Regions from separate parts of the Homo sapiens genome. Here region 1 is linked to region 2. The links are contacts of gene promoters, found by promoter capture Hi-C in human tissues and cell types (Jung and others, 2019). All regions are on one chromosome and are shown on one strand. Each heading gives the region's core, a stretch centred on a gene start or on the middle of the fragment in contact. The rest is flanking DNA. Distances are from core to core; before and after follow the strand shown. Region 1 has its middle 13 kb from the start of BRINP1. Region 2 holds the start of TLR4 (toll like receptor 4).

Region 1 (7,509 bases), core at 1,381-3,880, 1.7 Mb before region 2:
GGGACTTGAAGTTGAGATGGGCTAGAAACACCTAAAATTGTATATAAGGTAAACAGGAGAGTTCAGTAAAATGTAAGTCTCCTCATTCTGATTCAATGAACTTGCCTTTGCATAACTGTGTCCCCACCCTTTGAAAAATGATACTTCATGCCTGATATATAAGGACAATGTATCCAAGCAGCCTACTACCGTTAACTAAAAAAATCCTTCAAGATAGGCCAGGCTCAGTGGCTCACGCCTGTTATCCCAGCACTTTGGGAGGCTGAAGCTGGCGGGTCACGAGGTTAAGAGATGGAGACCATCCTGGCCAACATGGTGAAGTCTTGTCTCTACTAAAAATACAAAAATTAGCTGGGCGTGGTGGCACGTGCCTGTAGTCCCAGTTACTTGGGAGGCTGAGGCAGAATAGCTTGAACCCGGGAGGCAGAGGTTGCAGTGAGCCGAGATCGCGCCACTGCACTCCAGCCTGGTGACAGAGCAAGACTCCGTCTCAAAAAAAAAAAAAAAAAAGTCCTAAAGATATGATTAAAGTCTTAGTTTGCAAAACAAATCACAAAAGATATTTTATTAAATTAATACAATTTAATGAAGATATTAGTAATCATATTATAATATGCAGGAGATGACATTTAATCCCATGTTTCTACATCATTTGCTCTTCATTCTTTCTCTTATTTCAGGTATGGGAAGAAGTGAGGTCAGTGGGAATTAACTTTTCATTTCCAATTAATGAGGTGAGATTTTTGGAGAAAAGTAGGCCTAAAAAATGGCATGGAAATGGGCTAGAAGGAGGGAGGCAGAGCACTTGGAGAATAAAGGAATCTTTGGGGGAAGTCCCAAATCCCAGCTGTTATCCACCAAGTAATCACGTACTGCAGAGAGTGAAAGACTGGACCAGATTCAGTCACTGACCTGGAGATGAAATTCTCCATTTTCCATTATCAACTCAGCCAGAAATTTACTCCCCCTGGAGCCATATTTAGCCAACTTGCTATCTCCCTCCACCCTGCCTGGTTCATAAGCACAGATATAGGCATGGAGGTGAACAGACCCAAGCATTATCTTCCCAAAGGGCAAACTATTTTTGTACTGCATCAAGCAGAGTGCAGGGACCAGAAATGGTTGTTGCAAATAAAATAACAATACTAAATCCTGTTTGCAGTCCTGAGAGTGATGGGTCAAAGGAGATAAGAAGAGAAGATGAAGAATCAGAACTGAAAATCTTCAGCCCACTGGCTATAGTAAAGTAAATACATTTTAGAGAGGTGCAGTTTGGTATTGGAGAAAGAACATAGATTTGACAGTGGAAAGAACTGTGTTTACGCTCCCCATTTTACCTTCTCCTGTGGCTAGATTTATAGCACACCACCTCTACGTTACTGGCCTCAGTGAGATGACATTTCAAATGGGAATGCAATTTTTGATGCCACATAGAGTCGTTCTGGGTATTAATGTGAGAGTAAACATGAGAGTGTTTATTATTTACCTTCTACTCATTCTCTAGGGTCAAGACTAAGTGACCCTTCCCTTCCACTCTCAACGACTTTTATCTATGTGACCGTTCTTCTTCCCAAATCTGTTCGAAGAGCTTGTCCTAGCCACATTACAAAAAGCAAAATGAAATAGATGAAATTAATTATAATCACATTTTATTAAATCCCATATATCAAAAATACATCACTACAACATATCACCGATATAAAAATTATTATAGACATTTAACATTCCTTTCCACACTCTGTCTTCAATACCAGTTGTGTGTTTCACACATACAGCATATCTTAATTCAGACTTACCACATTTCAGTTGTTCAACAGCCACGTGGGGCTAGGTGCTGCCACTTCTAAGAGCTGGTCCAAGAGGAGACAGCTTTCTCCATTTCTGTGGATGGGTTACTTTCCTAAGGTTACTCTTGGCTGGCAAAAACCATGTCAGTGGCCTGGGGAATACTCTGTAATACCAGCTCAGTTTTAGAATTTTAATCAGTTTAACCATTTTATTTCTGATATTTGAGATTCAAGCATCAGATTGAAATTGGGATGGAGCAGATTTTAGAACCTGACCTTTAAAGATCATTTTAGCTCTAATTCCTGATTCAGTGCCCCACAAATACTTCCAAAGGCATCTCCTGTTGTTCAGATAAATAAAGCTGAGAAGAGAGTGGGTCAGACCAGATTAAAACCCTAGTGCCCTTCTTTTTCCATCAGCAATGTTTAAGAGTTAGAATGCCATTGGATTCCAAGGGATTCAGTTTGTGCAGCATGAATGCAGATGTGCCCAAGTGTATAGGACCCTTGCTCAGTCTACCATATCCTAAATTTGGCAAGCTCACTAAAGCATGGAGGTTTATTCAGTTTAAATTGAATGAGAATGGTGAAGATTGTTAAAAAATAATGTCAACCACAACAAAAATCAAAAACAAAAATAAAACAGAGATCCCTCACTTGCTAATAAAATAACATTTATTCCAAATCTTTAGACTAGACCAAAGATCTCCTAGAACCAGACAGTCCCAACTGAATCTGTTAATCCTAAAATTTTAAGGCGATTATGTGGAAAGGTTTTCTTGTATTTCTAAAAGCACAGAAGCCCCAGGAGAGGTTTAGTTTCCCCTACATTTTGGTAGAGGCCTGTGTGAGAGGTCTAGACCTAAGACCATTTATTAGGCAGTTGAGACCCACTGGTCTTATCTAAGGCAGACGGCACCTTCCCAGGAGACAGATGTTTGTGCAATGAATTTTGGGCACAGTTAAATAGGCTCACAACTTGAGGGGTATTTGTTTGCAGAAGAGAAATGCAGTTTGCATTCCACAGGAGACCTAGAGAGCAGCAGAATATCAACACAGCTCTCCAGGAGCATATTCAACCAGGTTTAAGGTAGCAATGAACAGGCATAACTATTCTGACTTGGGAATAATGCATGCTGCTAGCACTTGAAAATGGGTTGAAAAAAACATCTCTCTATCTTTTCCCAGCTCACAAGCTGCGTTTTGTGAGAACAGTAAGAGGAGCTAGGAACCAGGTCTGATCTTAGCTCATTGATCATGGGACTTTGCAGCAAGTCTTGTCTATGGAATATCAATGAGAAATGAAGGATCCCTTGCTCATGAAACCCCTTGGCTTTGAAGAGCAAGTGGCATCTATGTTGTCCTACCCTGGGTAACTTATAGGACTTAGGAAAACAGCCAGAAAGAGAGCACTTGTTGGGCCTTTTTCTAGCTCCTAGGTGCATTTCTGCTACCAGTTTTGTTGTTAGTGTTGTTTGCAGAATGAACTTTTTTTTTAAAGTGCTACCTTGACCTACTTTATATAGCATATGATAAAAATCAGCCGGTATAGTGTGTGATAAAAATTAAACATTGTATATAATAGGGAAGTGTTTTCCATTGTTTGAGTAGTTGTCATAATACAGGTTAATGCAGCAAGCAGAAAGTATATTCTGGTTGCTCACTATATGTTAGAATTTTCTAATATCTCTGCCTATAGAAAGAAAGAGATAAAGAAAATTATATTAAGTGTTTGTGAGCTTAGGTGTGTTGATTTTTTTTCATTCCTTCACTCAGTAGACATTGACTGAATCCATACCCCATGCTAGATAATGCCTTAGGTTCTAGGTTTTAACCCTAAATCTACCATATATAAACCATGAGGTCTAGGGCACTTTCTGCACCTTAATCTCCTTGACAATGAGATAATACACGATCTGCTTTGGTCATACACTGGATGAAGAATTAAGTGTGTCAGATGCTATGCCAAGCTATAATATTTTTAATCCTTACTCAGTTAGTTCTCTAAGCTAAGTATTATGGGCCAGTTTTACATATGAGGCCGATTTTACATATGCAACTTGGAGAAGTGAAATAGCCTAGATTAATTGAATTAATGGCAGAGGAGGGATTTAAATCCAAGTTCATCTGGCTTCAAAGATTATGCTGTTAGTTATAGATTTCATAAATATGAAGGTCTTCTAACCACACTGAACTATTTTGTAATGTTTTGTTATGACATAGCTAATTTCATGTACCAACCCCAAATATCTCTATAGACTCTTAGGAGCTTTGTGATTGCTTTTACCCATCAGCTTTTAGAAGGTGGGAGATAATCTGGCAGGACAGAAAGTGGATCATTGTGCTTCTTAGGTGCAGTGCATCAGATAGATCAACACTTCAGCTGAGATTTTGTTGCTTTAGCTGAGACTTGAGCAGCAGAGTGGGTGCTGGATTGGGTCTTGAATCTATACCTCGTGGGTGTAATAGAGCAGGTAGCTATGCTGCAATTAGGTCCTGAGTACACACTAGAGCTCATGGACACACCAGTCGTCAGAGATGAAAGGTACTTTCAAGATGCTTTCACTAAATTTTCTCAAAACAGAGGCCTACAGAGATTAAATAGCTTTCTTAGGTCTGTATGAGAGTTCTCCAGAGAAACAGAGCTAACAGGATGGCTAGAGATATTATTGATAGATAGATGGATAGATAGATATTATAAAGAATTGGCTCATGTGATTATGGAAGTTAAGAAGTCCCAAGATTCTGGGGAATAATTTGACAAACTGGGCTGAAGATGTAGCTTCAGTCTGAGTCTAAAGGCTGAGAACTAGGAAAGCTAATGTTACAGTTCAAGTCTGAAGGCAGGAAGAAGCCAGTGTTTCAGTTGTAAAGCAGTCAGGCAGGAAGAATTCTTTCCTACTAAGAAAACACAGGGAGAAAGGGTCAGCCTTTTAGTTCTGTTTTGGCATTCAACTGATTGGGTGAGGGTATCCATATTAGGGACAACAATCTATTTTATTCAGTCTAATGATTTTAGTGTAATCTTGTCAAAAATACTCTTATAGAAATACTCAGAGTAATATTTGAGCAAATATCTGGACACCCCATAGCCCAGTCAAATTGATGCATAAAACTAACCATCATGGAGTCACACTGTTGAATAGGGGAAAAAGCCATGAAGAGAACACACAAGCCTTTGGATTGGATTTTTGGATTATTTTCTTTTACACACTGATTTCATAGAATCCATGATGTATTGATTAAAAATAGCCACTTGTATACATTAACAAAACCAATTGATCTCTAGATCGAGGAGTGGGAAAATGGCATATACAGATTACTGCTAAGTGTTTTATTGGTATTTTCAAAGATAGATATCTGAAATATGCTCTGTAGTTTACTTGATCCAAGGAAAAGAGGTAGTTAAAAAACATTTTAAGCATTCCCTTCCTAATCACATTCACTTTCTCCTGTTATTTGTGATGCTTTTGAGTTGAGACATGTAAAGTTAAAAAAATAGAATCAATTTTGCACTATCTTTGGTAATGTTTAATAACATCATTAGAACATTTCAAGATTAACTGTGACCATTGAATTGTAAAATGTGTAAGGTTCAGCAGTATTTAAGAATCTTTCTGATAAAGTGTTCTGGGATTCTGAAACAACCTTGAAAAAGATGTAAGAAAAATATTATCTCCATGTTGAAGATGAAGATACTGGTTTAAGATGTTGCTGAGGGTCACCCAACTAGGGTGAAGGTGACTGTCCCAAGCTTCACCTGATATTTTTAAGGTGAACATTCAAAAGAGAATATTTAAAATTTCAAATTATTTGTTTATATCTTTGCCTAGGAGCAACTAATGGAAAGATTTGATTAGGGTCAAAGAGGCTGGCAATGTGGACATTTGTTGTGTGACATTTACATAGACATGTATAGCACTTATCTCTTTTCCATATTTCTGGTAATAGTACCCCACTTCTTTCAGAAGAGTCATTTTTTTTCTTAGTTATTCTGGTTGAGATAATGTTGAGATATTCCCTGGATTCGAAGTGTGAGAGGAACATGATGGGCAATCAGTGATGGGAACACAACATTATCGCAGCCAGTAGGATACAATCTTGAGATTTTGTTTGGGACTGTTGGGAACAGTTAAGATTGGCATTTGAGCTGTGCATGGAGAAAGTCAGCCTGAGGACCAAGCCAACCCAGAGAAAGAAAGAGCCGAGAGAGGCAGGATGTGTCCTTGTGACATGGAGACAAACCTGAAGAATGTTTTACCTTTTGACTTTTCAGTTACATCAACCAAGAAATGCTTTTTTTTTCTTTTTTTGCTTCATTCAGTTTCATATGAATTTTCTGTCATTTACAGGCAAGAGAGTGCTAATTGATATAGCAAGTTTGATTACTCCCTCTCAAAATCTGTCTGAAGTTGCTGTAGCCCCCTGGGGTGTGTAGTGATCCTGCAAGATTATTAGCATGGAAAAGTATGCAGCTTGGTTGTATCACGGTCTGATTATTTTTTGTTTATAGCTTGATTTTTTTTTAGACAGAGTCTCACTCTGTTGCCCAGGTTGGAGTGCAGTGGCGTGATCTCGGCTCACTGCAACCTCCGCCTCCCAGTTTCAAGCGATTCTCCTGCCTCAGCCTCCCAAGTAGCTGGGGCTACAGGTGTGCACCACCACGCCCAGCCAATTTTTGTATTTTTATTAAAGACAGGGTTTCACCATATTGGTCAGGCTGGTCTTGAACTCCTGACCTCGTGATTTGCCCACCTTGGCCTCCCAAAGTGCTGGAATTACAGGTGTGAGCCACTGCGCCTGGCTGGTCTGATTATTTAATAGTGTCATTATCAGCAAGATCTAATACAAACAAATGTCCTAGCACAGAAGAACAATGATTAAATTCATTAACCATGGCTTTGTTTACCCTCTCATTGTTAAATCAAACACACATCCTTGGTATACCTCTCCCTAGTAAAGCTTTCAGTGACCACATATTAACAAAAGAGGATTTGATGTCTACAATGTCTGAATTGCATAAATGTATTTCACACAAGCAGCAGCAGGGACTCAGGCTCTGTACATAATTTTCTTTGCTGACGTCTGTAATAAAACACAGATAATGATACAGGATATGCAGCACTTGACCTTCAACATAGAAAGGTAAAGATATTCTTAATTCCGAATTTAGATAATTCTTTCTATTTCATCTTGCCATTGGACAGACATGCTTTTATCTCTAAAATCTACAAAAGGCCTTCAACCATCTCAGGTAGAGAACATGTGGGACTGAAACTTAGGTTTCATCTCCTTTGCCTTATCCAATTGATTGGTAGTTTTGCTTGAGGATTTTGTTTTGGATTTTGCAAGGGAGAGTTCCATGATGGATTAGTAATGGCCCAGGCAAGAGGTGGACAAGAGGTAGTACTAAGGAGAAATCAAGAGATATTGAAAACTGACGAATATGTGATAGTTTGAAACAAAGACTAACCAGCTAAATTCAAGCTAATTATAATAGAAGTAAATTAAAACAATGATAAAAAATATATTTGTTATAAAATAACATCCCAACCATACCTCCTCAAAATAGTGAACCTGAAAATGAACCTGTAAAGAAAATGTGTTTATATGCCAGTGTAGTGTCACTTAGCACTCAAGTAGAAGAGACTGCAGTCTCTGTGTTACATAGGATAGTTTGAGAAAGTGCAAACTAGCTGAGCACAGAAGAGCACAACAATTA
Region 2 (7,546 bases), core at 4,303-6,802:
ATCATTTCCATTGATCAGATATGAAAACTAAGATTAAGGGAGATGAAGTAATATGCCTAAGGTTACATGGTTATAAAGGTTGGGGGTAAACTTGGCTCAGGTCTTCTGACCCCAACAGGACTCTATGCACTATACCACTGCCTTTGAATTGTTCCATTACTCCTTTGTTACATCCTATCTATATCCAAATTAGAGTATAATAGGTCGTATGCTCACTCTTCTACAGAAATGTCTGCTCTAAAAAGGATTTTTATACTGTGACCTTAGTCTTTATCAATAATTTCTATAATAAAAAATATGTAAAATGTTTTGAAATGTTTTACAAACCATTGCAGAGAACATGATCCATTATCTAGTTCGATTTGCAAATAAGGCCCCGATGATGAAAACCCTTTTAGAATTTGGTTCCCCTAAAATATCAAGATGACATTTCACCTGCCACAACAAACGATATACTTCCCTGCATCAGAAAAGAAAATCTTAGCCATTATTCCCTGCCCACAGCAGATGTTTTCCTTTAATCTTGACATCTTTCTCCTTGGGTTACTTGTCTTTTCCTAATTCCCTATCCTGTACACTAGTTTTAATATTCTAGACATTGTTTGAATCTTATGCAGTTCATGAAATCTTTCTTGACTACCCACCACAGAGAAGGCCCCTCTTCTGAAAAATACAATTAGTTACCTTTAGTTTAAACATAATTTATCACCTACTGTTATATGTCGCTATCTTTATATCAGTTTCCAGATCCAAAAAATCATAATTAAAATGTGTTGACTATATACTATGTACCCAGGACCATACCCAGGACTTTAAGGTATTAACTCTTTCAAGAAGATATGCCTCCTTAACAACAGGGGCTGTGTGTTATATATCAATATATGCCTGTCTTCTTGCAGAGTGTACAACATATAGCAAGTAGTCAATAAATAGCTGCTTATGAAAGAATTTAAGCTAATTTTCTCTCCTGTCTTAAAAGAAAACCTAAAATTAGAATTGCCCTTAGAAGCTGTCTCAGCCAACTGCCTACTTCACAGATTAGAAAACTGAGACCTGGAGAATAGAGGTAGCTTGCTCAAGGTTATATAGTTAATAAGACATCTGTTGTATGAATGAATAAGTGAATGAAGATGAGACTCCACAAACCAAGCTTTCCAGTCCAATAATGAAATGACAGGACAATGAACACCTCACCTTGTGCAGTATGTAAAAGTGGATTCATTACCTGGATAAATCCAGCACCTGCAGTTCTGGGAAACTGAAGAAGCTATAGCTGCCTAAATGCCTCAGGGGATTAAAGCTCAGGTCCAGGTTCTTGGTTGAGAAGGGGAGGTTGTCGGGGATTTTGTAGAAATTCAGCTCCATGCATTGATAAGTAATATTAGGAACCACCTGCAATGATTACACATGACATGAAGTATCTTTACTGCATGGTCTCCCAACTCCCCTCTCCTAGACCAGAGATGGTGGAGAGGGGCCTCTTTTTGTGCAAGCACAAAATTCAGTCAACCTTTCATCCATCTGTCCATCCTTCCATCCATATATCCATCCATCCATTCACTCAATTCATGCTTATAAATTGTCTTACTCTAGATTAGAAAGTAAAGAGCACCTACTACGTGCTCAGCATTCTAACCTCCGTGATAAAACGGCAGCATTTAGCAAGAAGCAATGGAATCGGGGTGAAGGGCTGAGGCTCCGGAGTCTGAAAGCTCTGGGTTTCATGCCAGCTCTTCTGTGTGGTTTAGGGCCAAGTCTTTAAAAACAAAACAAAATAAAACGAACAAAAGAAAAACCTCAGTGAGCCTCATTTTATCATATGTAAAATGTAGGTAATAAAATATCCAATATCGTGCTTGCTGCAGTAGCACATACACTAAAATTGGAAGGATACAGAGAAGATGAGCATGGCCCCTGCACAAGGATGACACACAAATCCATGATGCGTTCCATATTTTCATGATCTATGCAGCAAATCACCATGGCACACATTTACTTATGTAATAAACCTGCATGCTCTGCACATGTGCCTCTGAACTTAAAAGTTGAAAATACAAAAAATAAATAAAATATCCAGTATCATTTTAAATACTCCATATCATTGGGGAGACTGTCTGGCAGTCAAGATGTCCAGACCTTCCTTAGTCATGGCCCAGATTTTGACAACTGCATTCTTTTTCTTGGCTCATTGACCCTTGAGCAAAGTGATGTAGAAATAGGGGGAAATCTTTAGAGTGCATGGATTCCCATGGTGGAACCTAGTAAATAAGGTCAAGTGCTTTATGCTGTCTTTGTTTTTACACTGCTTTCTAGCCTACTTTCCCACATTCTTTGTAAGCCTAATTCTCTAACGCTCCCATCTAATTTCTGAATGCTCTCATTTCCTCCAACAAAATTCCTTGCAGAAGCCAGCTAATTGTAGTTTTCTGTTGTTTGAAACCAATAGAATGTTTGAAGGATTAAATGAGATAAGGTGTTTAAAGAGTTTATTTAAAAGCCCGCTACAGTATAAGTGATCAATAGATGTCAACATTAATTATTATCATCTATCATTAATCCCTTACCATATGCCTGCATAGTTCTTGTTTGTTATATACTTTCACTTAATCTTCAAATAAGCATTTAAAGATGAGGAAAATGGAAATTCAAAGAAATGAAGTAATATGCGCAAAGTCAGAGTTCAAACATGCAGATCTTCATTCGTATGTCTGCTTAAATGTTGCAAGCCATGGAGCCTCAAAGACAATATTGTCTAATAGAAACAGTGCCAGGCACTCTTTCTTTGCCCTCTTTTATTCCCTTTCACGGGAAGCACAACCATCTAACATTATGTTGTCTATCTGATTGTTCTCATCGTATTGTTCATCTCCTGTATTCCATTGCAAGTTTGATGGGTTTGCCCACTGCTTTGTCTCCAGCACTCAGAATGGTGTCTGGCAAATGGTTGGTGCTCAATAAATATTTGCTGAATCACTAACTGATTGAATAACTGATTAAATGAAGGTTTACTTAAGTCCAAATTGTAGGCATTTCCTGCCAAGTGCTGTGGGCATTACAAAGAAAAATATGATGCAGCTCCAGACTTCAATGGACTCACAGTCTAGAGTAAGAGTTTAGATAGGAGCAAAGCTAACACTATCTCAAGGGGCCATAAAATAGGCTTAGAAAATATGCCCTGTGGTTCAGAGAAAGCAGAGATCAAGTCTGGATTCAGGAAAGGCTTCCCAGAAAAGGAAGATTTTAAAGTGGGTCTTGGAAGATGAGTAAGGTTTAGATATGTGGAAAGGGGAAGAAAAACATGTCCTAAGGAGAGGACAACGTGAGCACGTAAAGAGTGGAAAACAAACTCAGATTAGCTGGTGAGTGGTGGGAGTGGTGAAATCTAAGTAAGAGGGCAAGCCAGATCAGGAGGGCCTCAGACTTTGTCCTGCAGCAATTATTTCAATCATTTATCACTTACACATCTAGCGGCTACTGTGTGCTGGCCACTGGAAATATAGTGGTAAATAAAACCAGCAATGATCCTGCCTCCTTACCGATTCCATTACAAAGGGAGAGAGAGAAAATAAACAAACAAAAATATAAAATGTTGTGCTCTAGAAAAAAAAATATTAAGCAGTATAAGGGGATTTGAGGCAAATAAGTGAGGCTGGAGAGCTCTACATGGGGCAATCAAGGAAGACTGCCCTGAGGAGGGGACATTTAATCAGAGATCTGAATGGAGTGATTAAAGCATGAAAAGGACTTGGGCTGCACTGACCAATACGGTAGTCACTAGCCATACACAGTTATCAAACACAAGAAATGTGAATAGTGTAAATTGAGAAGTGTGGTAAATGTAAAACATATACTAAATTCCAGACTTAGTACCAAACAAGGAATGTAAAAATATCAATAATAGGTAAATATATATTAAAATTTTAAACATTATTTTAAATACGCTAAGTTAAATAAAACTATTATCGAAATTAAATTCACTTGTTTCTTTTTTTAATGAGGCTACTAAAAACTTTAAAAGTACATATGTGGCTCACATAATATTGCCAATGGATAGCACTGATCTAGCATTCTAGGTAGAAGAAATAGCCAGTGCAAAGGCCCTGTGGTAGAAAGCTGTTCTAATGGCAATGGAGAGTTATTAAAAGTTTTTAAGGAGAGTAATTTGTTAGATTGAAGCCTAAGGAAAAATAATAACAACAAATGCAAGTACATAACAAACAAGAACGTGCAGAATGAATTAAAGGAAGAAGACTGGAATCAGGAAAGCAGTTAGTGTGTAAGAGTCAATGCCAGGGGAAATGAGGGCCTGCCTTACAGTGGAACTAAGGGGATGGGCAGGGATGGACAGGCTTCAGGGACTGACAGGAAAAGGTACATGGGGAAAAGAAGTCAAGTTTGGCTGTGGTTTTATCTCGCAGTGAGCCTAATTAGAAAATCTATCTCCATTAACCTAACAGCAGAGGGATACAGAGAAGAGGACAAGGAGGAGGACTATGGGCAGGGAATTGAGGGAAGGGATGGCTTCAAGATAATGAATTAGTCTTTGCTAAATATTACTTGATTTTCTCCTATATCCTCAACTTCAGGACTGCAGCTGGCTTTTTCTCTCTTGAGTTTCTGACCCTGCCTCACTGTAAATCATTTTCTTAGCTGTTCGGCTCTACTATGGGTTTCTAAAGCAACTGTGAAGTCTGCGCAGGGGAAAAACAAAAGAGATCCATCATGAATAAGATTACCAACCAGCTGATTGGTATTTCACTAAGAAAGAAACTGTTGCATTAGCTGACATTATACATATTTCCCTCTTGCTTTTTTCTTCTCTCTCTCTCTCTTTTCCTTTTTCATTCTCTTATTTTTTTCATCCTCTGGACTAAACTATATTACTGCATACAGAAGTCTGACACCCACTTAGAAAGTTCTTTCTCTAGAGACACACACACAAAAGCCATCTTTTTCCTGAGATTGAAAGGAGCAGGGTGACTGCTTGAAGCTGAGTGTAAAGACCACCAGTGGGAAGAAATGACACTGAAGCAGTCTGCTTACTCTCTAGTGAAGAAGGTATTATAATTCTCTTACAGATGCGAAAACTAGTCTCAGACAGGTTTGATAATTTCTTCACAGAGCCACAAGGTAGCAGAGCAGGGACCTTAAGCAGATCTATGTTATCTCATGCCCCTGTTAGCACTCAAAATTTCCAAATGGAACAAACCCCCAATGGCTGCCTCTAGTGCCCTGTAACAATGAATTATTTGATCTCTGTGGCTTCTTGAGTCTTTAAGGTAATTTAACTCTTTTTTTTTTTTGCAAAAATAAACAAACCAGGGCACACAGTGAGAAGTTCTGGGCAGAAGTGAGGGAAAGTTCAGAGGAGCTGACTCCAGCCACATACCTCCACGCAGGGCTCCCAGCTTTCTGGTCTCACGCAGGAGAGGAAGGCCATGGCTGGGATCAGAGTCCCAGCCAGGCGCGAGGCAGACATCATCCTGGCATCATCCTCACTGCTTCTGTGAGCAGCAGTGGCCCTGTGAATGCGTGGCTCGCTATCACCGTCTGACCGAGCAGTTTCTGAGGCACTGGTGTCTTCTCTTCCTCGAGCCGCCCCACAGCAATTGGTGTATTCAAAGCAGTTCTGGGCTAAAGGGTGAGAGGAAGTGAAAGCGGCAACCTTAGCATTCTGGACTTTTGTTTCTCTAATAGTTATCTCTTTTGTCACAGGAGAGGAAGTTAGAAGAAGAAAACGCCTGCAGACCAGTGGCTAAAGAAACAGCAAGAGGAAGCTAGTTGGCTTTTATCCCAATTAGTCATCTGACCTCTGCCTGGGCTTGGTGAATTTAGGAAAACAATCAGGTTCTATTAAAATAGCCCTTGTAACTCTCTAGGATGACGGTGATTTTCCAATTTTGTTTCAGCTGTGGAAACACTATTTGTATTAGTTTGCTGGGGCTGCCATAAGGAAATACCACAGACTGGGTGGCTTAAACAACAGACATTCATTTTCTCACAATTCTAGAGGCTTCCAGTCTGAACTCAAGGTGTCAGCAAGTGTGTCTGAATTCTAATCTCCCCTTCTTATAAGGACACCAGTTATGTTGGATTAGGGCCCACCATAATGACCTCATTCTACCTTACATACCTCTTTCAAGGCTCTCTCTCCATATACAGTCATAGTCTGAGGTAGAGGGGTTAGGACTTCGATATGTAGGTTTTTGCAGGACACAATTTGGCCCGCCCCTTCTTGTGAAGAAACTCACATACAAAACTGAAAATAAACCTCAACTGAAACACAGTTTGAAAAGTACAAGAAGATTGGGAAAAGTCTGGGATTTCAGAATGGAATATACTGAAGTTCAGATCTCAGCTGGGTGACTCATGGCTTTGAGGCATTGGTCAAGTCATGTAAACCGCTAAGCTTTACTTTCTTTCTTTTCTTTTTTCATTTTCTGTATTATGGTAAAATCACATAACATAACATGACATAACATAAAATTTATTATCTTGACCATTTGTATGTGTACAATTTAGTGGCATTAATTATGTTCATATTTTTGTACAATCATCACCACTATTCATTAATAAATAACTCCCCATTTCCCCTTTCCCTAGGCCCTTGAATCTATGCACTACTTTTGTCTCTATAATCTTGACTACTCTAGGCAGCTCTTAGAAGTGGAATCATACAGTATGTATCTTTTTGTCACTGGCTTATTTCACTTTGCATAATGTCCTCAAGGTTCTTTTCTGTGTAGTATAGATCAAAGCCTCCTTCCTTTTTAAAGCTGAACAATATTCCATTGTATGTATAGACCACATTTTGCTTATCCATTTGTCTGTTCATGGACACTTGCATTGTTGCCACACGTTAGCTATTGTGAATAATGCTGCCATAAACATGGTTGTACAAATATCTCTTAAAGTCTCTGTTTTCAATTCTTTTGGATACGTACTCAGAAGTGAGATTGCTGGATCATGTGGTAAATCTATTTTTAATTTTTTGAGCACCCACCATATGATTCTCCACAGCATCTGTACCATTTTACATTCCCACAAATGGTGTACAGGAGTTCTCATTTTTTCACATCTTCACCAACACTTATTATTACTTTCTGGTCTGTAAAATGTGGTAATCACTTTTAATCATAGCAGAAGCTTGCATTTATAAAATGTATTAAAATAAAGATACGCAATGGTAGTCAAATTATACAAACCTACCAACCTTTAGTTTTCTGGTCTTTAAAACGAAGATAATCGCATGTGTTTTGAATTACTGAATTAAGCTAACTTACGTAAAACGTCTAGTCTAGAGCATCATCATTACATTCCATAAATGAGAGCTATGATGAGGATTGAAAATGTGGATAGAATGAAGATGATAATATGTATCTCAAAGTATTGTATTGGGATTAAATGAACTGGCATTTGTAAAGCTTTTAGGACAGTGTCTGGAAAGTAGCAAGTGCAATGTAAGTTTCTGTTAAATAAGAACCTGATTTAAAACAGGAATATTATGCATGCTAAGTCCTAGATAGTTCTACTGTAATATCCTCCA

Evidence for each region. The method cuts DNA at HindIII sites, captures the fragments that hold promoters and counts their contacts. A contact is called where the count stands out against the background at its distance.
Region 1: a fragment that was not itself captured here is called in contact with the fragment with the promoter of TLR4 in region 2 in 1 of the 25 tissues and cell types used here (mesenchymal stem cells).

The regions. Positions count from the first base shown.
Region 1 is chr9:119,379,150-119,386,658 of GRCh38, reverse strand. No RefSeq gene overlaps it. Among named protein-coding and RNA genes, the nearest start is that of BRINP1, 13 kb to the right of the region's middle. The HindIII fragment of the contact is 9,505 bases long and covers 1-7,382 here.
Region 2 is chr9:117,702,409-117,709,954 of GRCh38, reverse strand. It overlaps TLR4 (toll like receptor 4), which reads right to left and starts at 5,552. Exons shown (of 3, transcript NM_138554.5): 1 at 5,390-5,552; 2 at 1,226-1,392. The coding sequence starts at 5,482. It also overlaps the pseudogene RNU6-1082P. RefSeq lists enhancers at 3,667-4,866, 4,982-5,482, 5,453-5,522, 5,533-5,582, 5,483-5,983 and 1 more. The HindIII fragment of the contact is 6,617 bases long and covers 162-6,778 here.